5 separate regions of the Homo sapiens genome follow, and all the other regions are linked to region 4. The links are contacts of gene promoters, found by promoter capture Hi-C in blood cells and fetal thymus (Javierre and others, 2016). All regions are on one chromosome and are shown on one strand. The core of a region is centred on a gene start or on the middle of the fragment in contact, and the rest is flanking DNA. Distances in the headings are between cores, read along the strand shown. Region 1 overlaps PTPN5 (protein tyrosine phosphatase non-receptor type 5). Region 2 has its middle 9.0 kb from the start of SAAL1. Region 3 overlaps SAAL1 (serum amyloid A like 1). Region 4 holds the start of LDHC (lactate dehydrogenase C). Region 5 holds the start of IGSF22 (immunoglobulin superfamily member 22).

Region 1 (5,768 bases), core at 157-2,656, 350 kb after region 4:
AAATGCTGGGATTATAGGCTGAGCCACTGCACCCAGCCCATCCTTCAGGTTTTAACCACTTGGAATTAAAAAGAAACAGCACCGGCCGGGCGCGGTGGCTCACGCCTGTAATCCCAGCACTTTGGGAGGCCGAGGCGGGCGGATCATGAGGTCAGGAGATCGAGACCACCCCGGCTAACACGGTGAAACCCCGTCTCTACTAAAAATAAAAAAAAAATTAGCCGGGTTTGGTGGCGTATGCCTGTAATCCCAGCTACTCGGGAGGCTGAGGCAGGAGAATTGCTTAAACCCGGGAGGTGGAGGCTGCAGTGAGCCAAGATCGTGCCACTGCACTCCAGCCTGAGTGACAGAGCAAGACTCCATCAAAAAAAAAAAAAAACCAAAAAACAAAAACAAAACAAAAAGAAACAGCACCAAGGTCCTAATAAACATCCCCACCTGTCCCACACATCATTTTCATATGTGTGTGTGTGAAATTCCAAAGTTTAGAGATGTAAAGTGATTCATGCAAGATCCAAGCTCAAAAAGGGCGGAGTCCAAATTCATTCACATCCAGGGCTTCTGAATCCGACAATAAGAAACCATAAAAAAATGAGCTGTGAATAAGACTTTATGGTTTACAAATCCCCATTCCCATCCATTGTCTCACTGAATTCTTATAACTACCATGAAAAAAATTGCTTTTCTCATTTCACAGTGGAAATGCCTCATGGGAGGGATGGAGCAGTGCAGGGTTTGTCCAAGCCCATCAGTGAAAGGCAATGCCCAATACAAGGGCAGACACACTCAGCACTGTCTTTACACCCAGGAAAATGTCCCTCATCCTGATCTCACACTTTGAAGGGCCCTGCTCCAATCCTCCATCAGGTATGCTCCTCCTCACAGGTAAGGAGTCCAGGGAACCAAAGGGACATTCTCCCTGTAAGGCCACATATTCAAAACCCCAGATTCCCTGGTCAAATGCTCCTCAGCCTGATTCCTGGACCTGGTGGCCCTCTTTTTTGACTGCTTCATGAGAGTACACTGTGCTGTGTGTATTCCTAGAACTGGCTAAGGTGACTGTTTGCAGAAGGTGTGTTTGGAGCTCAGATGTGTGGGCTGGGGTACCCATCTACCCAAGTGCTCATGAGTGTCCTTGTGGTGCTGGACAGAGCAGGGGTGGACTGGAGACTGGCTTTCCCTAGACCCCATATTTTGGTGCAGAACTCAGAATTCTCTATTTGAACCTGGCTTTTAAACTCCCTACAAATGAATATTCGTCAGAGTGGAAGGACAACATATTTCCTTTCAAAGCTTATCAGCTTGCTTTCGAACAGTTAGCTATCTAGACATAACATATACAGCCTTACAAATGTTAGGGGTGGGACTGCACACAGCTGTGCTCTTTGAAGTAGCAGGGAGGAGAGCCAAAGAAAAGAGAAGAGCAAAAGAGCCGAAGATTTAAGCAACAAAGGGTCAGTAGCTCAAATAGTGGAAGGTTGGGGAAAAGAATGAGACATGGGATGAAGGCCAAGGGGAGGAAGCTTTAGGAGAGGATGAAGCTAGTGTTAGGAGGAATGTGAAAGCTTATAAAGAGGATGTGCTGGTGGATGAAGGATGGCCACAGATTCTCTGCACTCCTCCTATCAAGAGGTGGCATTTACTTCCCATCCCTTGGATCTAGGCTGACCCTGTGACTGGCTTTGATCAACAAAATGTAGTGGAGTGACATTGTGTAACTTCTGGAGCTGGGCCTTAAGAGATCTGAAGCTTCTTTTTTGCCCCTCTTAGAGTGCTCCTTCTTGGTAATCACATAAGAAGTCCAACTACCATGAGACCATCATGCTGTGAGGAAGCCCAAGGTAGGAGCACTGAGGTGCCAGACATATAATAAAAGCTTTCTCCGACATTCTATCCCAGCACAGAATGAGGTGTGTTCAGCTGAATGAGTGACCTCAGCTGATGCCACATGGAATGGAAGAATCACCCAGCTAAACCCTGCATGACCCTCCAAGTCATGAGCAAATAAAATGGTTGTTGTTTGAAGCCACTAAGTGTTGAGATCGTCAGGCAGCAACAGACAACCAAAACAGATGCTGAGATCTGAAATGAAGAAATGAGCTTCAATGGAAGGATGAGTTTTTTTTTTTTTTCTTCAGATATAAAGAATTCCTGAGAGCTGGGGTGATTTGTCCCTGAGCCAGACCAAAGAGAAAGGTAATGGCATCTGTCACTGCATATGTTAGGAGTACGATGGATGTCCATTTGTCTAAAAGGGCATTGGCATCAACCTTTGAAGATGCAGGGGACTGGACCAGATGCATTCCTTCTTTCAGTTGCAAAGACTCTCTTTAAGTGTCATCACACATCCAGGCAACTCCCTAGAATATGAGAACTGTTTCTATCCTGGTGAAGGAAAACGGAGGATCATTCTCCCCACCAACCCTGGCCCCTTAAATATGTAAGCATAAAACACTCCTGCCTGTGGCTGTGCTGGTTCAGTGAGGTCTCAGACCTGTGGTGGGGAGTCAAGAAAGGACCACCAGATACACTACCCCACTCCACTGCTGTAGAACTGGCCTGGACCTGACGCCCGAGCCCCAGGCACAGGAACACAAAGAAAGAAAAAACACAAAGGAAAAAAAGGTTTTTTTTCTGTTCACATTCCATATCCTGGAACAACCATCACCGTCACTATTAGCTATCATTTATAGAGCACTCTGTAATAAGCACTTTACGTCCATGAACTCAATTAATCCTCACAAAATCTCTGTGAAGATGTCATCATATTACTACCCTTATTCTAGAGTGAGGAATTTGGAACTCACAGCAGTTAGATAATTTACCACAGGTCATGCTGTTGGTCAATAGCAGAGCTGGGATTTGAACCCAGCTGCCTGGCCATAGCACCCCAAGGCCTAGCTAGATGGGCTCCATCCTGGTGTCTGAGAATAGTTAGCCTCTACTATTGCTGACCAGTGGGCACCTGGGATGGTACTTCTTTTCTCAACACAATGGCATCGTTACAGAATACTGCCCAGTTAGTGTTCTTAGCACATCCAAATGGTGTTTCGTTTATACTTTAATTATCCATTCTGAAGACTCAAGTAAAAAACTCATCGTACCATCAATGACAATAAATATCTCTAAATGTATTTGAAGTCTTGAATGAAAACAGAACCATCAATTCAACAAAGAAATAAAAATCAACAGAACCTCTACCACTGAGTGTTGACAGCTACCGGTGACATCTCAGCAGTACTACTACAACCAGGTCCATCTTCTGGAGGTTTGTCCATTTGGGCTTCTGCACCTGCCCACAGACCAGCTTAAACCAATATAAGCACCACTCTGGGGAGCTTTGTGAAAACAGGGGCTAGCAGATCAGGGATGAGGCCCATTATGAGGTAAACCTGCTCCTTAAAATGCTTGACACAGCAGGTTCCTGAAGACATGAATCGAGACCCTATTCATGTTCTAGGTCACTTCTTAGAGGAAGCCTTCCCTGACCCACCAAGATAGGGTTGCAAAATGGCTGTACCCTTCCATGGCACCCTAAACTCTTTAGGAGCAGGGACCATGTCTGTCTTGCTTGTCACTGTATCACCAGTGCCTGGCAAGCATGGAGCATGGAGTAGGTGCTCAATAAAATTGAGTGGATAAAAGAATCAGGCTGCCTTTTCAACTGCCCTTGTTGGCTACTGGTCCAAGACCTCATCTGTGGCATGGTAGGAAGGCTATGAAAGCTATGACTTGTTCTTTCCTGCTGGTCAGAGATAGGCGCTGCAGGATTAGGGTGACAAAGCTTTCCTTGATTCAGGCCTCCAGCTCCTTTACTTTAAAAAGTGGCACTCGGGATGGGCAGTGGCCTCTTGCTGAGACCTAGACCTTGTCCTTGGCCCGAAGGAAGGGTCCACTTAATACCCACAATGATACAGAGCAGAGTGCCTAGGGCTGGGTTGGGGACAGGTTGCAAGACATCAGGATCTAAGGTGAAGAGTAGGTCTCAGAATCACCAGCCCAAGAGGCCAGTTGTTCCTACCAAAAGTGCAATGGCCTACTCAGGCCTTCAGCATACTCATGACCTTGCATAAAGCCAGCTAATCATGACACACTGAAATCTCAGGTTGGTAGGGATTGTCATGGCTCCAGCCAGCTGCCCGCAGGAAGGCTCCAGGAGTACTTTGTTCCCAAGAGCAGCGTTGTCCTTAGACCTGGGCCCTGTGCCCCGTCTCTTCTGTCCATGGCACTCCCCATGAGCAGAGAAGTCCATAGGGCTCAGGAGATATACTCAACTAGAGTCTGTTAGCAGCTGGTGTCCATGTTCCCCTTTCCAGGATACACTCTAACTACTAGGACTTCAGGATTTCCTGCCCAAATGGCTTGAAGCCTGCATGGGTCTCTTGCTCAGGTACATCCCTGTGAGGGTAGACACTGTCTCCTGCTTACGCATCTTCAGGTTTGAGGGGTGGCCAAGGAGTAGCTATTAGGGTGGAGTGTGGACCAAGCTTGAACATACAGACTGGCCTGCCCACATGCATGCACGCAAGCAATGGCCCTTGCAGTGCAGGACTGAGCAGGGGTGGTATACTGCGAGGGTCTTTATTGGCAGTCTGACCTTGGTCCCTGCAGGCCTGCCCACGAGTCTGCATGATGATGCTGCTGAGAGCAACACCTGGTGATGTTGCTCTATTCCATGTGCTGGCCCCCACTGGCACCTACTGCTGCTTTATCTACCTCCTTCTTCTACCTTGTACCTCCGCGGCAGCTGCTGGGAGCTAGGACTATGCTGGGCTAGGCCTGTACTGGTGCTGGATGGGGGAAGGAGTGGAGTCCCCAACATTAGCAGTGCCACCTGGTGTCTTGCAAATGTGAACACCTACACATAGAAGAAGAGAGATTGTGAGTTTGAATGTACCAAAGTGTTTGGGTGACTGTGAGCAAATGAAGTGAGCAAGAAAGGAAGAGTGAAAGAGAAGAGGAGGGTGACCACATGAAAAAGGGTGTGTGCATGAGGGAGAAGAAAAATACATGTGTGCACATGTGCACAGGGGTGGGGAAGGCAGTGGGGTAGACACTCACTGCCCCCACAGTACCGGGGAGCTGGGCATGACTGAGAGCCTGAGAAGAGGACAGAGAATGGAGAGGGAGAAAAGGAGTCTGCCTAGTCATTTTCAAGAGTGTGCGTGAAGAAGGGGTACAGTAGTGGGAGAAAGAGAAAGACACCTAAGGAGGGAATGAGAGAGCAAGCACATCACCAGGAAGCATGCAGAGTGGAAGCCGCGGGATGGAGGGATGGAGCTGAGAGAGGTGAGTGTGCAAGAGGAAGGCATGCAGGTGTGTGAGCCTGGAGGTGTGCGTCCGCCCCTGCAGGGCTGTGTGAGACAGAGGCAGGCCACGTGCCCGGGTGACTGTGCGTGGGAACATGCATGTGCATCGGGGAGCATGTGGCTATGACAAGTGAGCACAAACACGAGTGTGCGAGAGCACATGTGGGGGGTGTCCCAGGGGCTGTGAGGCAGCATGCCTGGCTCTGGGGCATTGGGGGGAGCTCCCAGGGAGTGTTGGTGATGCTGAGGACGTTTCCACCAAGAAAGCTCTGATGGGACTGTATGACCTGTCCTGTGTTGGCTCAGATCTGGGTGATCGTGGTGGCTCGGAGTGTTGGCCATGTTGCCCCCATCTGAAGGTGGGTGTGGGAACGAATGAGCCACCAGGCATGGCTGGCCCTCACTCTGCCTCGCCTCTGGGTAAGACAGAGAGTGGAAAGAGTACTTGAGGGCTGGATT
Region 2 (5,837 bases), core at 3,295-5,794, 300 kb before region 4:
TCATTACTGAAGTTGTTCATAGGATTATCTTATTATCTTTTCTATTTTATGAACCATATAATTATAGGCTTATAGTTGGTCCATATTATGGTCCATACAATGTGGTCCATGTATAGATATAGTTTTCTCCCCAATTCCCACTATTGTGCATTAGTGCTTTATGTTTTAAAAAATAAAACAGTGATGTTTATTGGTCATCCCTATGGTACTAAACAGGCCCATGATCCCAGGAAGACTGTCATATTCTGCTTCCAGATTCCAATAACAAACTGGATTTCACAAGCATTTATTAAGCATTTTTATGTGTTCTATATCAAGTACTAGGGATATAGAATTCAGTAACTGTAGGTCAACAAATGTCCCTGCCCTCAGGGGCTCACAGCCAGGTCTCCTGAGAGCAGATTGAAAAGGAAGCTCAGTATTTCTCTGGCAGGCCAGCAGGTCGGAAGTGATTGGGGTCTTTGCCACTCTGGCCCCATTTGTTGGTAGCCTGGCCAGCCAGCGAATCCTCTGCATGGTCTCCTGTGAGTCTCTGGACGTTCTCTCTGGCATCGCTGTAGTCCAGGCAAGCAAGGAGATTAATCACCAGGCCAGTGAGCAACAGCCCACCTTCCCATTCTCTGCTTTCCAAGGGAGGACTCTGGGAGAAGCCCAGGAAGGCCAAGGAAGGAGGGGTGAAAACAATGACCCTGCCTGGGCACTGCCCCACTCAGCCAGGCTGGGCACCCCTAGGCTGGATGAACAGCACCCAGAGAGGGAGGGTGAGGAATCACTCACTTCTACCATCCACTCAGACCCTCGCACTAAGCACACAGGCAGAGAGAGGGCAAGAGGAGGAGGGGCTGCAGCCTCTAACTTCTCTGCAAGGAGCTTACCTCTCTCCTGACTGTCCAAGGCAGTCAAGCTCTGCTCACTCATTCCTGGCAACATCAGGAATGTGCATTACCTGATCACTTCTGTAGCCCAGACAGCCCCAAGCCCCCTTTGTACAGCATCATAGTTCCCCCAAGCATGGAAGTATTTGTCTGAATTTTTTGTAATTGGCTTCTTTCATGTCAGAGTAGGCTTTCCACATGTCTTTAGTCCCTGGAAAGGAAAGAAAATGATCAAAACAATTATATACTGGGAAAATAGAGGAATGAACAGTTTTCTTCTCACTACTTTCCTCCCGAAGATTTCAGCCTTCAACAAAGCCCTTGGAAATTATATTGGCTTGAAATAAATATTCTTCTACTTTTCACTTCTCTGGGTTAATGTAATGAGAATTGTACTTGGTGTAAGTTTCATTCTGTTTGATTCCATTCTAAGTTCTGTTATTACTTTGTTTTAACCATGTGTGATGCACCTAAAGAAGAGATGAAATGGTCCTTAAGGGATGTTTCATTGTACAATGAACTTCTACCTGGAAGGACCCAGGGAACCCTCAGTTCCCTGGTGTGAGAACACAGGGGATTCTGAGGGAGGCTGCAGACATATGGCGCTCCTAACCTAGTCAATGAGAGAAATTCATGCCTGTAGGTAGAGTGAGGACAACTTGGTCCTGAATACATCTGAATGTCCAGGCTATAATTAGAAACTGACATCTGTCAGAATTCAGTCAGCAAGTGATAAAGGTGAGTTACCTAAGAAAGCTTTATACTACTGGGTAATCAAATTCAGAAAAAGGACAACTGACCCACTAGTTCAGAACCTCAATGTCCTCCCCAATGAAATGGAGGAGTATTGCCTGCCTCACAGTGATTATGCAGAAGAGCAGAGAAAATACATGTATGATGTCTAGAACATTGTAGGTGGCCAATATATTATCATTTCACTTCTCTGGTCCTTAGGAAAGGTGGCATAAGAAAAAAGAAGGGCTAAACTAAGATGAGGAGCAGGGAGTTACGGACTGAAGGGATCTGATCAAGCTAGAATTAAGTGACGAAGATTTTTTAGAAAATTAACTGATTACGGAAAAGGGGGAACTCAAATATAGAGTTATAATCATGGTTTATATAATTTCTCTATTAGATAACTCATCTTCATTTTATGCATTTATTACTCCTGGTGTTAAATTGATTGCTTTTATTGAGAGTTTATGACATTTTTACTCTACTTATTCCTCTGAGTTACTGACTTAAATGGCTCCTTGATGTTCAGATTGGCTTAATAAGTACTTCCAAAATTCCTGGCACATTTTATCACTTTCAGCAGCAAAACAAGAGGTAGTGGTTCTCAACCTTTGCTGTGCATAAAAATCTACCGAGGTGCTTAGCAAAGGCAAGATTTCTAGGCTCTGTCCCAAGAGACTGTGGCTGCTGGGGGCAGGGGGTAGGGTATGGACCCGGGAATCTTCATTTCATTTCACAAAGCATCCCAGAATCCAGGTGATTCTCACGCAAGTGGTCCCAGAACAACCCTTTGAAAAATATTAACCTAAGGAATGAAAGATATTTGTAGTTGAGTGTGTGAACATGTAAATAGGATTAAAAGCAAATCCTTAAAACCATTTTTCAGAGACTCAGAAAAATAATAATACCTGAAATTTAAAATACTGCATTCTGAAAACAAAATTTTGCCACTTTATTATGGCTAGTGGGGTATATTTCTCCCTCTCTCTCTCTCTCTGTCTCTCTAGATGGAGTCTTGCTCTGTCTCCTAGGCTGGAGTGCAGTGGTGTGATCACAGCTCACTGCAACCTCTGCCTCCTGAGTTCAAGCAATTCTTCTCCCTCAGCCTCCCGAGAGGCTGGGATTATAGGCGCATGCCACCACACCCGGCTAATTTCTGTATTTTTAGTAGAGACAGGATTTCGCCATGTTGGCCAGGCTGGTCTCGAACTCTTGACCTCAGGTGATCTGCCCACCTCAGCCTCCCAAAGTGCTGGGATTACAGGTGTGAGCCACTGTGCCCAGCCCTCGGGGTATATTTCTCTTGCTAGCAGTTTCCTGGCCATATATAAGCCCCAGTAGAACCACCATCAAGGTAATTCACTGTAGGTTTTACTGGGATAAGTGGAGCTAGACTTACCTTCCAAAGGCACCACATCCTATTTGCCATTTCTTAGATAAAGGATGAGCTATGTGTTCACAAATCCGAAACTCTTGTTTTGAAAGCAGCAGAGTACCTTGATTAAGAGCAAGTTCTGCAGAGCAAGACTGCCTGGGTTAATCCTGCTCTGCTTTGGAACTTCTTTACGTATCTTGGGGTTTGTGTGTGTGTGTGTGTGTGTGTGTGTGTTAGTGTGTGTGTGTGTGTGTGTGTGTTAGCTTCTCTGTTAAGGGATAATGCTGCTTGCATCATAGGACTAAATGATGGAAACCAATTCATTAGTACATTTAAACAGTGCCTAGTACGTATTAAAATCTCAGCTAAGCTTGGTTGTTTTTATGGGGACGGTTGGCTCCGTTCAGCTTCCCCATGGACTCGCCTCACACTTTTGATCCACCTGCTTCCTGGCTTCCCAGGAGACATAGACATGAACTGTCCCAGATTTCCCACTAGGGGGCAGTAGAGCCCCACCGGTATTATGGGAACATGCACCCCTCAACTCCACATCTCTCTCATGGTCCTGCTGAAAAGAGGCAGCTCACACCTTATGCGACCTCGGCTGGAGGATCCTCATAGAAGAGTGTCAAAGCTGTCCAGAAAAGCATGAGGAACCACGCTTATGAAAAACCATGCCCCTTCTCTATCCATCTGTGGCATCACTAGCACCTTTGCCCAGTGGGGATGTGGCCTCTGCTCAGCTGCATCCTGGGGGCAGCCAGAAGCAGCCTCCTGCCCCCTATCCTGTGGACCTCACCTTGGCCAGCTGCCTTGAGGAATGTTAACCATCCTTGGCTGCTGACACCCAGGACCAGGGAGCAGAAAATGATGCCAGTGGAGAGCTTCATCCTGCTGCAGGGCCAAGGAAACACAACCAAGGATAATACACATTCTGTTTCAAGTTTTTATTTTTTGTAATGTTAGTCCATTCTTTCATTCCAAGAAAAAAACCCACTCGGTTTTACACACGCACACACACACACACACACACACACACAGGTGTATGTGTATAGATAAAAGATAGAAGGTCAGAGGGTCTACGTCTCCATTTCCATTTGTCTCATTGGAATCCCAGTATCTGACAGAAGAGGAGCAGTGACCCAGGATAAAGCAAATAGACAAAAGTCACACCATGTTTGAGAATCATTATTTTAGATTAGAGCCTGCCAAAATTAGGAATTATGCCTCTTTCTGGGTTCTGAGCATATTTTAGGCACAGTAAAATGAAAGTTATAAGGCAGATAGCTGTCAGAGGATTTCCCTGTCCCTTTGGTTCTTATCTAAGGCAATGCTAAGCAACATTTGAATATTCCCTACACAACTTCCATTCCTTGGAAAAGGTGGGATTCCCTGTGGTCAGTGTAGTATCTGAGCTGGCGTGGCTCACTTGGTCCCAGGAGTAGACAGTAGAAGAGGGGGAAGAGGAGGGGAGTTGTCAACCATCCACAGCCACTGGTCATGGTGTACTTGGAGGAGCTGCTTCATAAAGCAGGGCATGTGATGTCCAGACCTCCTTTTTCCTACTCTTCTTCAGGCAGAAATTGAGGGCCAATGATCACATCCTGTCACAATTATTTTACTCCCTTTGGAACCATTCAATGCTGGAAATCTACTTTCTCGTTTTATTCAAGTCATTCTCTTCTTTGATAGAAGTTGATATGGTTTGGATCTGTGTCCCCACCCAAATTTCATGTTCAATTGTAATTCCCAATGTTGGGAGTGGAGCCTAGAGGGCGGTGATTGAATCAGGAAGGCTGTTTCTCATGAAAGGTTTAACAGCATCCCCCTTGGTACTGTCGTCGTGATAGTGAGTGAATTCTTTTGAGATCTGGTTATTTAAAAGTGTGCAGTACCTCCCCCCTCACTCTCTTTTGTCCTTGCTCCCACCATATGAGATGCCTCACTCCCGCTCTGCCTTTGCCATATTGAAAGTTTCCTGAGGCTTCCCCAGAAGCAGAAGCCACTATGCTTCCTGTACAGACTAAAGAACCATGAACCAATATAACCTCTTTTCTTTATAAAGTACCCAGTTTCAGTCATTTCTTTATGGCAGTATGAGAACGGACTAATACAGAAGTATTAGAAAGCAAGTGGCGTGGAGACACTGGCTCATGCTTATAATACCAGCACTTTGGGAGGCTGAGGCAGAAGGATCACTCGAGGCCAGGAACTCAAGACCAACCTGGGAAACATAGCAAGACCCCATCTCCACTATATATCTGTATATATATTTTTTAAATTAGCGGGGTGTGGTAGTATGCACCTGTGGTCCCAGCTACTCAGGAGGCTGAGGCAGGAGGACTGCTTGAGCCCAGGAGTTGGAGGCTATGGTGAGCCATAATCACACCACTGCACTCTAGCCTGGGTGACAAAGTGACACACTGACTCACAGGAAAAAGAGCAAGAAAGCGAGTATGATTTCTAGATACCAAGAGGAACTCCTCACAGGGACTTTGACAAGCCTTGCCTGTTTTCTTCCTTTGTTACTTAATGTATTCTGCCTTCCGGGAAGGTACACGCAGTTTCTTATGGTGCCAAGCTGAGAATAATAGACAATAACGGCAGTCAGTTCTTTTCACTTGTTTCTCCTGAAAAAGAAAGATTTCCTGTCATGATATCAGAGTCCCCAGGCCTTAAAGGGATTTTCCAACAGTCTCTTACAAGTGACTACGTGTGCTGGTTTGCATGAGATCAGTGTCTATTGTCCAAGCTTAATAGTGGCACATCTTTTCATTGTCTACAATGGCCTGGATTGAACAGTAAATCAGATGGTAGCACTACTCTGATAACCTTGTGTGACCAGGCTGATT
Region 3 (5,281 bases), core at 2,614-5,113, 320 kb before region 4:
CCATCAGCAATATAAATTGCACCACACTAATATTAAGACAAGCATTTAACTGAATTTATAACATTTGTTAACATTTCTCATTTTTGGATTTTTGATAGAGAACATTAGAGACCAAACATAATCTTAAGTCATTTGTTCCATGGATGATGGTAAATTACTGAGGAATAAATACTCTGAACTAGGATCTTAAAGTCCCTCCACAACTAGGAGTTCTCTCTTTCTGAGAAACCCAGGTACTTGAATCCTGTGATAAAACCCTCATGGCCCCAGCTCTGACAAAAACTGCCTAGAACAGTTTTCTTAACCTATTTTGGGTACAAATTTCTTTGAGATTCTGATTAAAAGCCATGAACCCTTTGCCTAGAAAACTAATACACTCACAAAATTCAGCATATAATTTCGGGGTGTTCTCCGAACACAGTAACCACTGGGGTTTCCTCCATTAAAACACCTTCTGCCCAGAACTTTACACATGGAGAAGAGAACGAGCCTCGAAGCAGATATCTGAAAGTCTTTTCATCAGAGAGGCAACCCTTTATCTTCCAGTTGTTGGCAAGTCTTACACTCTAAGTCAGAGCTCTCAGGATGACATTATTCAACAAATCTAGTTTCTGTAGACTCCAGCTGAGTCATTGGATTCCCTGCCCCTAAACTGTTTTGGATTCCAGTTGGCTGCCCCATCTCCAAGTTTTGGCCCACTGGTTCTTCCCCTATCTGGCTTATTGCCACCAGCTGACAATTCAGGTTCCTTTGCTACTGAAGAAAACAGGCTTAAATCCTGAATCATTTCAGTATCTCCTGAAGAAGCCCCTAGCTATCATCAACACACAATGAAGTTCCCACAGAGTGTTCATCAAGACAAAGAAAGGACTGTCTTTCAGATTTGCTACTTTTCCTATGTATTAGAATTTCCTTAAGGATATAAATGAATATATTAAAAAACATAATTATATAGTAAGACTTACCCAAGATTTTTATCACTGCTGATGGACACACATATCTCCTGGAAACAGGCCATATTACCTAAAATTCCCACACAGATTTCCTGCCAAATCAAATTTTACAAGTCACAATGGCTCTGAGACGAAAGACGTAAACAAAAATATCAACTTGAACAAAAACTTTCGCTGAGCCAAGTTTTGGGGCAAGGCGGAGGGGAGGCAGGATAAAGAAATACATATACTGCCTGTACCCTAACCTTGACAAGCTTACAGTATTTGAGAAGGGATGAAAAACGTAAGAACAAGAAAGGGCAAAGGCAGGAGCTATGCGAGAAGAACTTCTATCGATAAAATGAGTTTTAAATGATTGATAGGAATGAGATATGCAAACAAAAAGACAGACATTCAAATAAGGGGAAAGTATCAGCAAAGGCAGGAAGGGAATCATGTACATGGCGAATACTGTAGACAATAAAGTACTCTGGTTGTGGCACAAAGTGGGTGAACAGCATGAGGTAAATACTGCAGGTATAAAGGACTGAGATTAAGGGCTCTGAATGCCGTGCTGAAGAATTAGACTTAATCTGGGAAGTTATTTGGAATCATGAAGATGCTCAAGGAGGGGAGACAACATACTGAAACAGTATCTTAGGAAGATTACTCTGGTGGCGAAATGCATAATGTATTAGTGTAGTCCCTCTTTATCCATGGTTTCAGTTACCCATGGTCAACCTTGGTATAAAAGTACTAAATAGAAAATTCTAGAAATAAACAATTCATGTTTTAAATTGCATGCCTTTCTGAGCAGCACGATGAAATCTTGCACCGTCTCACCCAGGATGTGAATCATTCTTTTGTTCAACATATCCACACTGTATGTGCTGCCTGCCCATTAGTTACTTAGTAGCCATCTTGGCTATCAGATCGACCATCGGGATATCTCACAGGGCTTGTGTTCATGTCACCCTTATTTTACTTAATAATGACCCCAAAGCACAAGAGTAGTGATGCTGGCAATTTGGATATGCCAAGGAGCCGCCATTAAGTGCTTTCTTTACATGAAAAGGTAAAAGTTCTTGACTTCATAAGAAAAACAAACAAAAATGTATGCTGAGGTTGCTTAGGATCTCTAAGAACAAATCTATCCATGAAACTGTGAAGAAGGAAAAGGAAATTTGTGCATATTATAAATAGGGTTCAGTACTATCCTCGGTTTTAGGCATTGGGGGCCTTGGAATGCAACCCCCAAGGATAAGGGGAGACTAGTGTATAGGGAAAAGAAGTTGAAAAGAACTTAAGAATCTATCTCAGTAATAGTTAATTAATATGTAATAACAGTTTATTACCACTCACGGTGGCCAGGCATTACTCTAAGCATTTTCTGTGTATAATTTCATATAATAACTTAGGTGATAGGTACTAATAGTATCCCCATTTTTTCAGATGAGGAAACTAAGGCACAGAGAAGTTAAGCTACTTGCCTAAGATCTTAAGATCTCCAACTAGAACACGGCAGAGCTCCAGAGCTTGAGCATTTAACCACTATTCCAAACTGCACCTCAGTTATCAAGATGCAAGAGGAGGAGGGCCCTCAGGCATGGAAAAGGATGAAGCTGAGGAAGACTCTCAAGGTGAAAGCAAAATAATCCAGTGTGAGGATAAAGGAGAAAGCAGTTGAACTTGACTCCTAGCTTTCAAGTTGCCTCATTTCCCCATCAGTGATATTGGTCCCGTTGACAGGAAAACTAAAAAAGAAAGTGCATAAAAGGCTACAATGAGTTCAGATGGTACAGTGTTTCCAACCTTGCTGGAACATAAGAATCACTCAGGGAGCTTGTTAAAAATACAGATTTCCAAATCTCATCTCAGATCTACTGAATCATAATTTCCAGGGTAGAGCCTGGAAAGCTATTGTTTACCCAGCATATACCAGGTGACTTTTATGATTAGATAAGTGTGACCATAAATCACTGAGGACATACAGAATTCAGGGTTAGAGAGTACAGCTGACCCTTGAACACAGGTTTGAATGTGTGGGTCCACTCATAGGTGGATTTTTTCTAACCAAACTTGGACTGAAAATACAGTGTCCTCAAGATGCAAAACCTGCACAATATGCAGAGCTGACTTTTCATACACACAGGTTCCACAGAGCTGACTGCTAAATTGAGTATGTGTGGATTTCAGTATGGGGGAATGTCTTGCAACCATCCCCCATGTATACCAAGGGACAACTGTAGAGCGTGCAAGCAGAGAATGCCTGAACAAAGTTGGAGATGTGACATCAGTTATCAGAAGGGAAGTCGAGGCTTTGCTCCTACAGGCAGAGTTGCAACTTAAAGGTGTAAAGAACACATAAGTTCACTAGGAAAATGAATATAATGAGAACAAAGGATCAGGGCCTACACCTTAGAAAAAGTCCATATTCGGGACAGTATAAAAAAGGAAGAAAGAAAAAAGCCAATGAAAGGTGAGAGACGAGTGACTGAAGAGGTCAGAGACGACAGTGAGGTGACACAGGAGCTATAGAAATGGAATTTCAATAAAAAGTGGGTGGTCAAATGTTGGGAAAAGATTAAGAGTGAGTAGGGGCAGAAAAAAACCACATACATTTCCCTTATAAACTAAAGAGGGAATAACTGAACTTCCAATCAAAGATCAAGTTTTTCTTGGCTGTTCACTGGAATCACCTGGGGAACTTTAAAAGCTGCCCAGAGTCTCACACTTGGAGATTCTGCTTTAACTCATCTAGGGTATGGCCTGACCAAGATTTTCAAAAGTTCCCTAGGGTAAAGCTTCTCAGAGTGTGGCAATGCACCAGAGCACCAGCATCACCTGGGAACATATTAGGAATCCTGGACCTACTGGACTAGAAACTCTGGAGGGAGGCTCGGCAATTAGTGATGCGGGGACATGCTTAAGTTTGAGAGTCCCTGTCCCAGGTGATTCTAACATGCAGCCAAGGCTGAGAATCACTGTGGCAGCAGACGGTGGCCAGCGGATATAATACAACAATATGACTAATTCCTAAAAGGTGCCATTCCTGACATAAGCTTATTTCTTTATATACTAGTAGTGAGTAAATATATTTAAGACAGAAAAACTCAGTATAAAAATAGCATAATCATCAAATCTTATATTAATATAAGGAATCAAGGAAAAAACGGTTAATCAGGCCCTAATTCAGAGAGAACATTCTACTTAAATAAGAATTCTAATTCAACATTCAATTTGTAAAAATACACTATGGAATTCTCCATTTTATAATCTGAAAGAGAGGAAATACAGTACAGTGGTTATACTGAAGTCAGGCCTAGGCTGAAATCTCAGCTCCATTCTTTCCTAGCTGTGTGACCCTGAACACATATCTTCACCCAAGATTTAGTTCTTTGAAAGTATACCTCATAGTAGTAAGACCAGGTATTCAGTAAACAGCAGTTTTTCATAATTATAATTATTGAACAGATATTTACTAATCCATGATATGCATAGCACATGGCAATTTAATTGGCAATAAAGCACAGTACACTGCACAGTATATAAAGGCCTCTCCTTTAGTCTTTATCTATTGTTCTTGGCAGTTTACTAACAGCAATGACTACTGAAAGCTTACTTACTTACTTGGGAAGGTGTGGAAGGAAAAGTACCACTGTGAATTAACAGATGCAAATACTGAGAGGGGACAGAAGGCACACAAAGGGAGGCACGGAGACAGCATGAGACAGGGAGTAGAAAGGTCTGGCTAAATCAGAAGGGTTACCTGGCTATCCAGATTTTATGCTGGAAAGATGAGTTAGGTTCAGAGAGTAGAGGTCTTAAGCAGCAGGCTGAGTTTAGAATGGTTTTCAAGCAATGGTGGATTTTGTCAGTAAAAAAGAGAAATCAACTGAAAAATGGGAGGCCCAGGCTCTGTTCCTTGTTCTGATACATACTAGCAGCATAACAGTGGTTATGCCTAACTCGTCTCCACAGCTGGTAAATGAAAGTGCTAATTTCCCTGGTCCGGCCTGAATCTAAAATTCTATGATTTTCATAATTTTAAATTATTAAATTATTAATAATTTAATATTTTAAATTATTACAGGCATTTAGCTCACGCTTATAATCCCAGCACTTTGGGAGGCCAAGGTGGGAGGATCACTTGAGGCCAGGAGTTCAAGACCAGCCTGGGCAACATAAGGAGACCTTTGTCTCCACAAAATAAAAATAAAAATTAGCTGGGTGTGGTGGCTTACACCTATACTCCCAGTTACTTGGGAGGCTGAGGTGGGAGGGTCCCTTGAGCCCAGGAGGTCAAGACTGCAGTGAGCCGTGATCACGCCACTGCACTCCAAGCCCTG
Region 4 (5,237 bases), core at 362-2,861:
GGCTAGTTGCTGGTTGAGAAAAGTGCCATAAGAGAGAGATATACAGGAAATGATGGTAGTTGACATTTGTCAAGGAAAGCCAGAGTATGTATGTGCAAAGCTGAAAATGAGGAATTAACCTTGAGAAGGGCTGGGGAAAGAGCTTTCTTGGTTTAAAGAACAGCAAAAAGTCCTGATCCAAAAAAGCTGTCCAAAGCCTAGTTGGAAGGAAGTGTATTGAGTGTCCTGAGATGATATGGGAAGTGGGGGTAGGAGGCCAAATCTTGAAGATCTAGGTTGTGGTAAAAGTGGGTTACTCTACCTGTAATGGAAAGCCACGGAAGAGTTTAAAGCAGGGTTATTGCATAATCTGAACCATATTGAAAACAAATACTGACTGGGTGCGGTGGTTCACGCCTGTAATCCCAGCACTTTGGGAGGCCGAGGTGGGTGGATCACTTGAGGTCAAGAGTTCGAGACCAGCCTGGCCAGCAAGGTGAAATACAAAAAAATACAAAAAAATTTGCCCGGCGGCTGGGCACGGTGGCTCAGCACGGTGGCTCACGCCTGTAATCCCAACACTTTGGGAGGGCGGATCACTAGGTCAGGAGTTGGAGACCATTCTGACCAACATGGTGAAACCCCATCTCTACTAAAAATACAAAAATTAGCCGGGCGTGGTGGCGCACGCCTGTAGTCCCAGTTACTTGGGAGGCTGAGGCAGGAGAATTGCTTGAACCCAGGCGGCGGAGGTTGCAGTGAACTGAGATTGTGCCACTGCACTCCAGCCTGGGCGACAGAGTGAGACTCTGTCTCAAAAACAACAACAATAACAACACTACAGGCTATTATAAGAAAAATAAATTATATTTTGGATTTTGAAAAAGGTTCAAATGCAAATACTCTACAAAAGATGGAGTAGGTTGTGTCCCCTTCTGTGAGATATATATCTCTCTCACAAAAAAAAAAATATATATGTAAATTTTTTTTGAGATGGAGTTTCTCTCTTGTTGCCCAGTCTGGAGTGCAGTGGCGCGATCTTGGCTCACTGCAACCTCCGCCTCCTGGGTTCAAGCGATTCTCCTGCCTCAGCCTCCCAAGTAGCTGGGACTACAGGCATGCACCACCATGCCCGACTAATTTTATATTTTTAGTAGAGACGGGGTTTCGCCATGTTGGCCAGGCTGTTCTCAAACTCCTGACCTCAGGTGATCCACCTGCCTCGGACTCCCAAAGTGCTGGGATTACAGGTGTGAGCCACCGCGTCCGGCCATGAGTTATAAATATTAACAATTTCTTGCTGTAAATTGAAAGCATCCTTCGCGTCTTTGCGTTTCATTACCACCCTCTGTTCTCTCAAGAGAAATTCTAACTTTATTTCAGCACTCAGTCCTGAAGTTACAGAAGTTAATAATTTTTTAAAATCCTGCAAACAATGCATGGATATCCCCGTCTTGCACACTCTTTGGGCCAGTCTAGAATTCTTCCCATCAGCATTTCGGTGATCTGGACCGCCGCCACCCACACTGCGCTCCAGGGCAGAAAAGACGCCCCATGCCCGCGCCTGGGCCGGCGGGGGGCGGAGCTTGCGTGCTGACGCATAAGAGCCGAGCGGGGGAACGTGCGTGTCTCGAGTCGCACGGAGGGCAACCGTCGACGGGCTTAGCGCCTCAACTGTCGTTGGTGTATTTTTCTGGTGTCACTTCTGTGCCTTCCTTCAAAGGTGGTGCTTTGTCCCTGTGGGTCATCTGTACTGATTGCGCCAAGCAAAGCATTTGTGAGCGTGTGGTGCTGGGGTGAAAGTGGTGGCTGGGGGCAGGGAGAAATCCAAAAGCCCGCTGGTGCCCCAGCCCTCCCATTGCCTGGTAGACTGGGCCTTGCTTTACCCTCCCCGCATCCTTTGACCAGGAAATTCTTTCTTTGGCTTCCCCCCATCCCCGGCTCCAACATTCTGCAAACTGAAGAGGTAGTTTCTTAGATGTTCAGTGTGGTTAATCCAATGAAATTGCATTATCCCTATCAGGTTCTCCAAATGTCAACTGTCAAGGAGCAGCTAATTGAGAAGCTAATTGAGGATGATGAAAACTCCCAGTGTAAAATTACTATTGTTGGAACTGGTGCCGTAGGCATGGCTTGTGCTATTAGTATCTTACTGAAGGTGAGTGAGAAGCCCATCCTGTGGCTGAAAATCAAGTGAGCACTTCAGAGTGTTGTATATGTCGATGTATTCAGGGTTGCAAGGTTAATCCCTTGAAAGCAATTATGTATCCTTTGACCTTTCCTCCCTCCCTCCCTCCCTCCCTTCCTTCCTTCCTTCCTTCCTTTTTCTTTCTCTCTTTCTTTTCCTTTTTTTTTAAACTTCTTCTTTCTTTTCCTTTCTTTTTTTTTCTGACTTTCCTTTTCTTTTTCTTTTTTTGAGACAGGATTTGTCTGTTACCCAGGTTGGAGTGCAGTGGCGCGATCTTGGCCCACTGCAACCTCCACCTCCCGGGATCAAGCGATTCTCCTGCCTCAGCCTCTTGAATAACTGGGGCCACAGGCATGCACCACCAGGCCTGGCTAATTTTTTATATTTTTAGTAGAGATGGGGTTTCTCCATGTTGGCCAGGCTGGTTTCGAACTCCTGACCTCAAGTGATCCGCCTGCCTCGGCCTCCCAGAGTACTGGGATTACAGGCATGAGCCACCACACCTGGCTGCCAATAGGTATTGTTTTTAACCCTTGTGCCCTCCTCCCTCTCTGCTTTTGGAGTCCCCAGTGTTTATTGTTCTCTCTTTTTTTTTTTTTTTTTTTTTTGAGACGGAGTCTCGCTCTGTTGCCAGGCTGGAGTGCAGCGGCAGGATCTCGGCTCCCGGCAACCTTTGCCTCCCGGGTTCAAGCAGTTCTCCTGCCTCAGCCTCCTGAGTAGCTGGGACTACAGGCATGTGCCACCACGCCCAGCTAATTTTTATATTTTTAGTAGAGACGGGGTTTCATCATGTTGGCCAGGATGGCCTTGATTTCTTGACCTCGTGATCCGCCTGCCTCAGCCTCCCAAAGTGCTGGGATTACAGGCATGAGCCACCACGCCTGGCCTTAAGTAGGGACTTTTACTTCTTTCCCTTACTGTTCGCTTTTGGAATCTGGCTATTGAAATCTGAATGAATACACTCCTTGTATATAGTTCCGTACTCTGTCACATGTGACAAAAACCCAGTTTAAATTAGGGTAAGCAGAAAAAGACGAAATATTGTTCATGTAACTGGAAATAGGGCAAAACTGCTTCAGGTACTACCGGATTCTGAAGTTCACACATATCAAGACATAGTCTTTGTATATCTTGGTTTAGATTTTCTCTGTTGGCTTAATTCGTAGAGCCTTTCTATGTGGTGGTAAAGATGGCTGTACAGTTTGTTCTTAGATTCTTGTTTTTTCTCCAACTCTACAGTCCTTACTAATGTTCTTAGATTTGCATGTTATTCTTAGAGCTTATGATTCCAAAGAAAAGTGAGATGTAATCTTCCGTCTTCCATTTTCAAACTTCATAGACATGCTTGTTTCTTATACCTGGGCCATATGTCCACTTATGAACTGATTTCTGTGACCAGAAGGAAAGGATGGAACAATTGGCTAGGTCTGGTTTTATGCCCATCTACCCTAAGCTTGGAAAACCAATGTTAATTGTACTGCACTGAAACATATGGAATGGGTTCCCATGGAAAAGAGAAATTCTATTACCAGAAAAAGGGACACTAGACAGATGAAAACAATAAGTGTTCATCAGAGGTGGTTACCTTCCTGTTTGGGCCATAACGACGCATACTAAAAGCAGCTTTAGCCAACTCAGAAATTAGGGTTAAGGTTAAATATAATAAAATCCTGGCCGGGCGCAGTGGCTCAGGCCTGTAATCCCAGGACTTTGCGAGGCTGAGGTGGGTAGATCACTTGAGGTTAGGAGTTTGAGACCAGCCTGACCAATATGGTGAAACCCCGTCTGTACTAAAAATACAAAAATTAGCCGGACATGGTGGCGGGCGCCTGTAATCCCAGCTACTCGGGAGGCTGAAGCACGAAAATTGCTTGAACCTGGGAGACGGAGGTTGCAGTGCCCGAGATTGTGCCACTGCACTCCAGCCTGGGCGACAGAGTGAGACTTCATCTCAAACAAAACAAAACAAAAAACACAAAAATAAAGGCTAAATATAATAAAAGCCTTTGAAATCATTTTATTTTCCTTGGTTTCAAACTGTTATCTGAATGGCAAAAAAAAACAAAAACAAAAAACACCCAGCTCTAAAAAGTTCTAACAATTATATGAAGTCAAACAATTTTTGCTACATCTTAATATTTACTTACCTTGACTTTCGGTCACCCAGGCTCATTGAAAAACTATTTTTATATCATTTTTCCCTATTAAAATATGAGATTCCTTTAATTATCAAGTAGCCACATGAAAATTCTTCTTATTCTCCTAAAACTTAAGTAGGAACATTTTATTCAGAACTTTTGTATATTTTAGGATTTGGCTGATGAACTTGCCCTTGTTGATGTTGCATTGGACAAACTGAAGGGAGAAATGATGGATCTTCAGCATGGCAGTCTTTTCTTTAGTACTTCAAAGATTACTTCTGGAAAAGGTTAATTTTAGTTTTATAAAGTTATTTTCAAAGCTTTTTAAAAAAGTAATAAATTTTACCAAACAGATGTCAATAAATATAAAATTAAAAATAGCACCATGCCATTGGGCCATATAATTTAATTTAGTTGATCAATTTTTTTTGTTTTTTGAGAGAGTCTCACTCTGTCACCCAGATTAGAGTGCAGTGGCGCGATCTTGGCTCACTGCAACCTCCACCTCCCAGCTTCAAGTGATTCTCCTGCCTCGGTCTCCTGTGTAGCTGGGATTACAGGCATGCGCCACCACGCCTGGCTAATTTTTGTATTTTTAATAGAGACGTAGTTTTGCCATGTTGGCCAGGCTGGTCTCGAACTCCTGACCTCAGGTGATTGGGCCATATAGTTTATTTTTATTTATTTATTTATTTTGAGATGGAGTCTCGCTCTGTTGCCCAGGCTGGAGTGCAGTGGCACAATCTCAGCTCACTGCAACCTCCGCCACCTGGGTTCAAGCAATTTTCTTGCCTCAGTCTCCTGAATAGCTGGGATTACAGGCATGCGCTACCACACCCCGCTGATTTTTGTATTTTTAGTAGAGATGGGGTTTCACTATATGTTGGCCAGGCTGGTCTCGAACTCCTGACTTCAGGTGATCCACTTGC
Region 5 (6,030 bases), core at 3,338-5,837, 310 kb after region 4:
GCTCTCCCTCTTCCAGGAGATGTGGGGTTTGGCGTTCCCCTGCACCCGGGCTCGGAACACGGCTTTGTCCCCTGCGATGAGCACAGGACGCGTTTTCGCCTCTTAGCCACCAGGCTAGAGCCTCTGCCACCCTCTGCCGGCTCTCTGCCTCCTCCCAGACACCTGGGCCTGGCCCCGGGCAGGGGAGGAACCCTCGGCCAGGCTCTGCCAGGGTTTAGCATTGGAGGTCGTTGGGGTAGGACGGAGGGTGGGGGCACTCGATTAGAAAGCGAAGCACTGGAGCCCGGTGAGCCACAGGCAGCAACACACCCTCGGGCGCGGTGACCGGTTGAGGCTTCTCCACGAACTCAGGGACGCTGTCGCCCGCAGGGATGTTTGAGCTCCGGGTCACTAAGCTGAAGAACTCCACTATGCTCGAGGACTTCCTCCTCACGACCTCCTCTGTGGGGGCAGGCGAGAGGTCAGAATGGGCTCCAGGTAGAAGCCCAGCTCGCGATGGGAGGACAGAGCTTTCTTGAGAGGACGGTGGAGCATGGGAACAAAGAGCATTTAGGGAAGTGGGAGCAGGACCAGCTACATGGGGAGAAAGCAGGGTGAGTCGATGGGCCATTGTGTTATGGCAAGTTTCAACCACTAGGGGAGGCGAACTCCTTTCCCACACCTCAGTGGTCCATTACCTTTATGGGGCCACAGCCCTGAGTCCTAATTTTTTTTTTTAAAGGAGGCTTCTCTTTTGGAATTTTCTTGGTCTCTTAGGCTTCTCTCCTGGAAGTCCTGGTCCCCCAGTAGCATTAAGAGGGGCTAGGCCTGCTTCTGCCTGGGAGGTCTGCAGCTTGGCTGAGCTCTGCTCTAGATTTTCTCCCTGCCATTCTGTGGGTTCAGCATTCATTGCCTTGGGAGTAGTGATTCTTGAGTGAGGGACAGGACACGACACAGTCCCACTCCAGTGGAGCTATATATGGGAATATCCTTATCTGAAAGCACATCTTCAATGTGGAAATATAATTTTATATTTGGAAAACAAAAAAAACTGTTTTTGCAGTATAAAACTACAGACAATCTTCTTGGCTGGTGAGTTATCAATTCACAACAATTGCTCTGAATCATGGAACACTTTCCTTGAGTCAGGAACTGTGCTAGGCACATATCAGAGATGATTTTATTCCATCTTCACAGCATCCCACTGAAGTAGGTGCCTTTATTATCCCACTAATCTGACAGAGGGGGAAAAGTGTGTTAAGAAGCTCTCATGGCCTGCTTTTAAATACTAACAAGAGGTCTCAAACAGGCAGAGTGCAGTGGACACCTGGCCTGCAGATGTCTTTTATGTGACCTCCACAATGTTTAAACAAAAAAGTAGCCCTACATCTGAAAGAGAAAGATTTCACATAAAAATTCAGATTTCTGGATTCTCAACACTGAACCTGTATTCCCATATGGCAACAGTCAGTGGGAGGTGAATAGTGGCTGCCCCTTTAGATGGGATATACAGTCTCTAGTTTACCCCAGTCTTTTCCCCACATTTATGTTCCCTGCCTGGGCCCTGTTGGTCAGTGGTCTACAGCTTTGGCTGCACATATATAATCCATGGAGAACTTTATAAGAAATACCTGATTGAATGGTCTGGGGTGAGACTCAGGTACTGCCATATTTTTGCCCTCCTCACACCCCCTGCACTAAGGTGACTCTGATGTGCGGCCACAGCAGAGAATCACTGCTGTAAATCACTTGAGTTTGGAACTTCTGGTCTAGACCATAGGCCTTGAGTCCCAGCTGTTCCACTTGCTCTGCCTCACTGGCCAGGAGGTGTTGGTTGGTATAGAGTGTTTATCTGGCCTTGACCTCTGTGCACGGAGGACTTTGAGGGACTCTATCCCTTTGAGGCTTTGAGGGAGGGGCAATGACTGTGAGAAGGGGTATCCAATGTCTTGGCCCCCGGCCATCTTTTAATCTCTTTCCACTAGAGACGTGACTAAAACACTCTGTTCAGCTCTGAGACCATTTCTCAGCTTTCCCTTGGATCTGCCCTCTTCCAAGTCTGGCCCCAGAGGGCTAAAAGCCTGGAAGGTAAGGTCACCTTCTTGTTTATGTGTTCACCTTCTTTCTCCACTGGTAGCCCCAAGTCTCCTATTTCTTAAGTGGAGCAGGGTCAGCATTACTGATATGTAGATAAGGTGGCTACCTTCCTAATTTCCCCTATGCCTGAAATTCTACCTTTGGAGATAGAATCTGTTCACCTATGGCTCTGATCTCCTTCAGCAATTAAGAGTTTATCAATCATTCACACACATCCACATGATTGATCTTTTCTAAGCTGTTTTCCTGGAGATCTGATCTGTGTTGAACATCCAGCTGGCTGAAGCTTTAACAAAGCCAAGATTAGAAGCACACGTTGGGTGGGGGTTGCTGTTGGTATTGTGGGCTCCAGAGGGGCCCATTAGTGGCAAAACTGGGGCCACCCAAGGGATGGGTGTGGAGGAAGAATAGCTGCCCTTCCCGATCCCTTCCCTGCCCCCATTCCACTTGCCTCCCACGATCTTGGTTGTCTGGGAGAAGGTCTGCACGTGGGTGGTGGAGCTGGAGAACTCCATGGACACGTGCTCCTGCAGCATCTGCCGGCTGTGAATGGTTGTCATGGTGACAGCAGGCGTGGGCACTCACCTGTGAGACTGGGGAAGAGGATGAGGCCATGAAGGACAAGACAGGGAGTAGGAGGGAGATTCAGAGATGTTATGTGTGTGTTCAGACATAAGAGGAGATGGAAGCACACAGGAGAGGGCCAGGAGAGCAGTCGAGCTCTCTTTTCTTCATTTCCTAGCTTCCTTTTCCTGGTTAGTTACCAGACCCAATAGGCCTGTCCTCTCACTGAGTAACTCCAAACTATTCCAGGGTCTCAGAGGGAGAGGTTATAGGGCTTAGACTTACCCAGCCAACCAAGTAAGGCCTGGAGGGAGTTGAGGATACCTATTGATAGCTACATGGCACTAAGGAGGCAGTGCTGGATGTTTCATCAGGAGGGAATGCAGTCAGACCTAAGAAAGAACTTCCTGACTAAGCCATACTGGAGTGGGCTTTAGAAGGAAGCTGTGTCTCTTATTCCTGGGCCCTGGGGACCCCGGCACTGGTGGAATGCTAAAACAGATGACAAAACATCACTACAATTCTGCTTGTGTTTGCGACATGGTAAAGGCAAAGGTTTAGTTTTTCTTACATTTTTCTTTGAACTGGTAATTCAATCACATAGTTAAAGAATAAAACAATATAAAAATCCATATGGACAGGCTCCCTCCCACTCCTGCGTCTATCTTACAACCTTCCCCATTGCAACAGGTAGCCAGTCTCTAGGCTCCTTCTAGACCTCCATCATGCAAATAGGAAAACTCATGTGTTCTTATCATCTTCCTTTTTTTTTTTTAATTAAAAAAGCACATAAGGTAGCCCATTATACACACTATTCTGACCCTTTCTTTTTTCATTTAATGTGTCTTGGAGATTTTTTCCATACCAGATGATAGCGTTTCCTCATTCCTGTTCAGAGCACCATGTTTTCTCAATGTTTTATTTAACCAGCATTGCGGTTTTTTTTGGGTGATCTCGGCTCATTGCAACCTCCTCCTCTCGAATTCAAGCCATTCTCCTGCCTCAGCCTCCCCAGCAGCTGGGTTTACAGGCACGTGCCACCATGCCCAGCTAATTTTTGTGTTTTCAGTAGAGACAGGGTTTCATCTTGTTGGCCAGGCTGGTCTCAAACTCCTAGCCTCGATTGATCCGCCTGCCTTGGCCTCCCAAAGTGCTGGGATTATAGGTGTGAGCCACTGCATGTGGCCAGCATTGCAGTTTTTTTGTTTTTGTTTTTTTGAGACAGAGTCTTGCTCTGTTGCCCAGGCTGGAGTGCAGTGGCACGATCTTGGCCCACGACAACCTCTGCCTCCCAGGTTCAAGCAATTCTCCTGCCTCAGGCTCCCGAGTAGCTGGGACTACAGGCACCCGCCATCACACCCGGCTAATTTTTTGTATTTTTAGTACAGATGGCGTTTCACTATGTTGGCCAGGCTAGTCTCGAATACCTGACCTCGTGATCCGCCCACCTCAGCCTCCCAAAGTGCTAGGATTACAGGCGTGAGCCACCGCGCCTGGCCCAGCATTGCAGTTTTTAAAGTCCTATTTCGTATATGAGGAAACTGATGTCTGAAAGAAATGACCTGTCCAAGGTCACTCAGACTAGACTCCTAGCTTTTGACTCCAGTCCAGTGGCGTCCCAGAGGGCTCCAAAGCCTTCTTTAACCCAGGTAGTTAGGGGTTAAACTCTATTCCCTCTCTCCACCCCCTAATATATCTCTGCCTGGGCTGCTTCTACCTTTGGGTTCTGAGACTACTCCCCTGTTCCTATTCCTGCCCTCTACCCTATAGTCCCCTCTGGGCTCAGAAGGTGGTCAGCTTTGTCCCCTTCCTGAGGGAGGAGGGGAGCCTTACCTTCAGCACTGACCAGTCCCTCCCAACACTCGAATGCTGTGTCCACGGCTTTGGAGGCTCAGCTAGTGCCTGGACTGTAGGGTGGCCCGTCTCCTTCTTCCTTTGCCCCAACAGTGAGGCTACCAGTGTCATCTGTTCCTTAAATGTCTGGCCCCCTGGGGGCGATTCCTTAGTCAGGCTCTGCAGCTGTCTCAGCTAGATGGCACACTGCTTGGTTGTGGGGGGAGGGGGAGGGCGGTGGAGAAGGGAGGCGGGAAGCAAAGCTGGATCCAGGCTGGGGGAAACACTGAAGGCCAGGCGGGAAGGAGGCTGAGGGTGGCAGTCCAGGGGTACTTTTTTTGTTCCCTTGTGGTACAGGTTTTGGCTCTCACTGCTGCTGGGTAGGACCTCTCTGAGCTGAGGGGCTCAGGGTAGTGTGTGTGCACAGGCACACACTCAGGTACAGGTGCATGCATAGTCCAGCAGGGCTCAGGGAGCAAAGCAACAGGTCTGTATTTTCCAGGGACTGGGACACGGTGAACTGGGGAGGGCCTCTGGGATCTGCTGCGTTGCTACACAAATCCAGGGGTTCCCATTCATGTTGCACTCCTATGTGTGGTTCATACACAGCCTGAGTATCTTTACAAGGCCACCCTGGGGAAGAACAGGGAAATGTTAGGTCTCCTTCCTCTTCCCACTTCAACAGCCCAATCTCCCTAATCTGGGTAGAAGAGTAGGAGGGCCCATCCTCCGGGGGTTGTGGGGAGGTCTCTGCTTGAGGGTGACTGGAGAGTATGGCCACCTCTTCTCAAGGACTTCCATCTGGGCTGCTTCAGCCACCTGTTGTTTTCTTTTCTTTTCTTTTTTTTGAGATGGAGTCTCTGTCACCCAGACTGGATGCAGTGGCACGATCTTGGCTCACTGCAACCTCTGCCTCCCAGGTTCAAGCGATTCTCCTGCCTCAGCCTCCTGAGTATCTGGGATTACAGGCGTGCACCGCTACGCCCGGCTAATTTTTGTATTTTTAGTAGAGATGGGGTTTCACCATGTTGGTCAGGCTGGTCTCGAACTCCTGACCTCATGATCTGCCACCCCTCGGCCTCCCAATGTGCTGGGATTACAGGCGTGAGCCACCGTGTCCAGCCCACCCTGTTGTTTTCTCATCATCTGTAGCACACCCCGCATGCCTGGACCCTGGATCCCACCCAAGGTTCTGGCACCTTGTAAGGACTTGTTGGTCAGCACCCTTGCCCTGGACCCCTCCTTCTGCCCTGGGGTGACCCCCACCTGCCAGCAGTGGCATCATGGCTACTTTTGCTCCATCCCAGGGGGGCAGGGGACAAGAATAGAGCAGGAGTGTCCAGGATGGCTCAGGATCTCAGCCCACATGCAGATTCCCTGGGCCCCTTGGGAGGAGCTACTCTGAGCCCAGGCCTTACAAGGGAAATTACTGGGCTGCAGCTGCTGTTGGGATCTGTGGAGCTAACATGGGATAAGAGTTTGGCCAACAGGGAGGGGCCTGGGTGTGACCTGAATGTCTCCTTACCCTAGCCTTGGCTTCTCTGGCACATCTGTTGG

What was found. The method cuts DNA at HindIII sites, captures the fragments that hold promoters and counts their contacts. A CHiCAGO score of 5 or more calls a contact.
Region 1: a contact is called between a fragment that was not itself captured here and the fragment with the promoter of LDHC in region 4, in 4 of 17 cell types (activated CD4 T cells, naive CD8 T cells, non-activated CD4 T cells and 1 more). The highest score is 6.5, in activated CD4 T cells.
Region 2: a contact is called between a fragment that was not itself captured here and the fragment with the promoter of LDHC in region 4, in 1 of 17 cell types (naive B cells). The highest score is 5.4, in naive B cells.
Region 3: a fragment that was not itself captured here is called in contact with the fragment with the promoter of LDHC in region 4 in 1 of 17 cell types (total B cells); the score reaches 5.4 in total B cells.
Region 5: the fragment with the promoter of IGSF22 here is called in contact with the fragment with the promoter of LDHC in region 4 in 11 of 17 cell types (total CD4 T cells, naive CD4 T cells, non-activated CD4 T cells and 8 more); the score reaches 14.1 in total CD4 T cells.

What each region holds. Positions count from the first base shown.
Region 1 is chr11:18,756,558-18,762,325 of GRCh38, forward strand. The region is part of intron 3 of PTPN5 (protein tyrosine phosphatase non-receptor type 5); the gene reads right to left. Among named protein-coding and RNA genes, the nearest start is that of PTPN5, 32 kb to the right of the region's middle. RefSeq lists enhancers at 4,952-5,452, 5,453-5,768. The HindIII fragment of the contact is 230 bases long and covers 1,292-1,521 here.
Region 2 is chr11:18,112,202-18,118,038 of GRCh38, forward strand. It overlaps the pseudogene SAA3P. Among named protein-coding and RNA genes, the nearest start is that of SAAL1, 9.0 kb to the left of the region's middle. The HindIII fragment of the contact is 2,382 bases long and covers 3,354-5,735 here.
Region 3 is chr11:18,091,280-18,096,560 of GRCh38, forward strand. SAAL1 (serum amyloid A like 1) reads right to left here. Exons shown (of 12, transcript NM_138421.3): 4 at 966-1,045. Among named protein-coding and RNA genes, the nearest start is that of SAAL1, 12 kb to the right of the region's middle. The HindIII fragment of the contact is 258 bases long and covers 3,735-3,992 here.
Region 4 is chr11:18,410,707-18,415,943 of GRCh38, forward strand. LDHC (lactate dehydrogenase C) reads left to right here and starts at 1,612. Exons shown (of 8, transcript NM_017448.5): 1 at 1,612-1,702; 2 at 2,003-2,137; 3 at 4,478-4,595. The coding sequence starts at 2,012. The HindIII fragment of the contact is 7,298 bases long and covers 1-3,618 here.
Region 5 is chr11:18,721,601-18,727,630 of GRCh38, forward strand. It overlaps IGSF22 (immunoglobulin superfamily member 22), which reads right to left and starts at 4,588. Exons shown (of 23, transcript NM_173588.4): 1 at 4,474-4,588; 2 at 2,528-2,669; 3 at 310-441; 4 at 1-71. The coding sequence starts at 2,636. The region is part of intron 2 of IGSF22-AS1 (IGSF22 antisense RNA 1); the gene reads left to right. RefSeq lists an enhancer at 31-220. The HindIII fragment of the contact is 7,417 bases long and covers 2,361-6,030 here.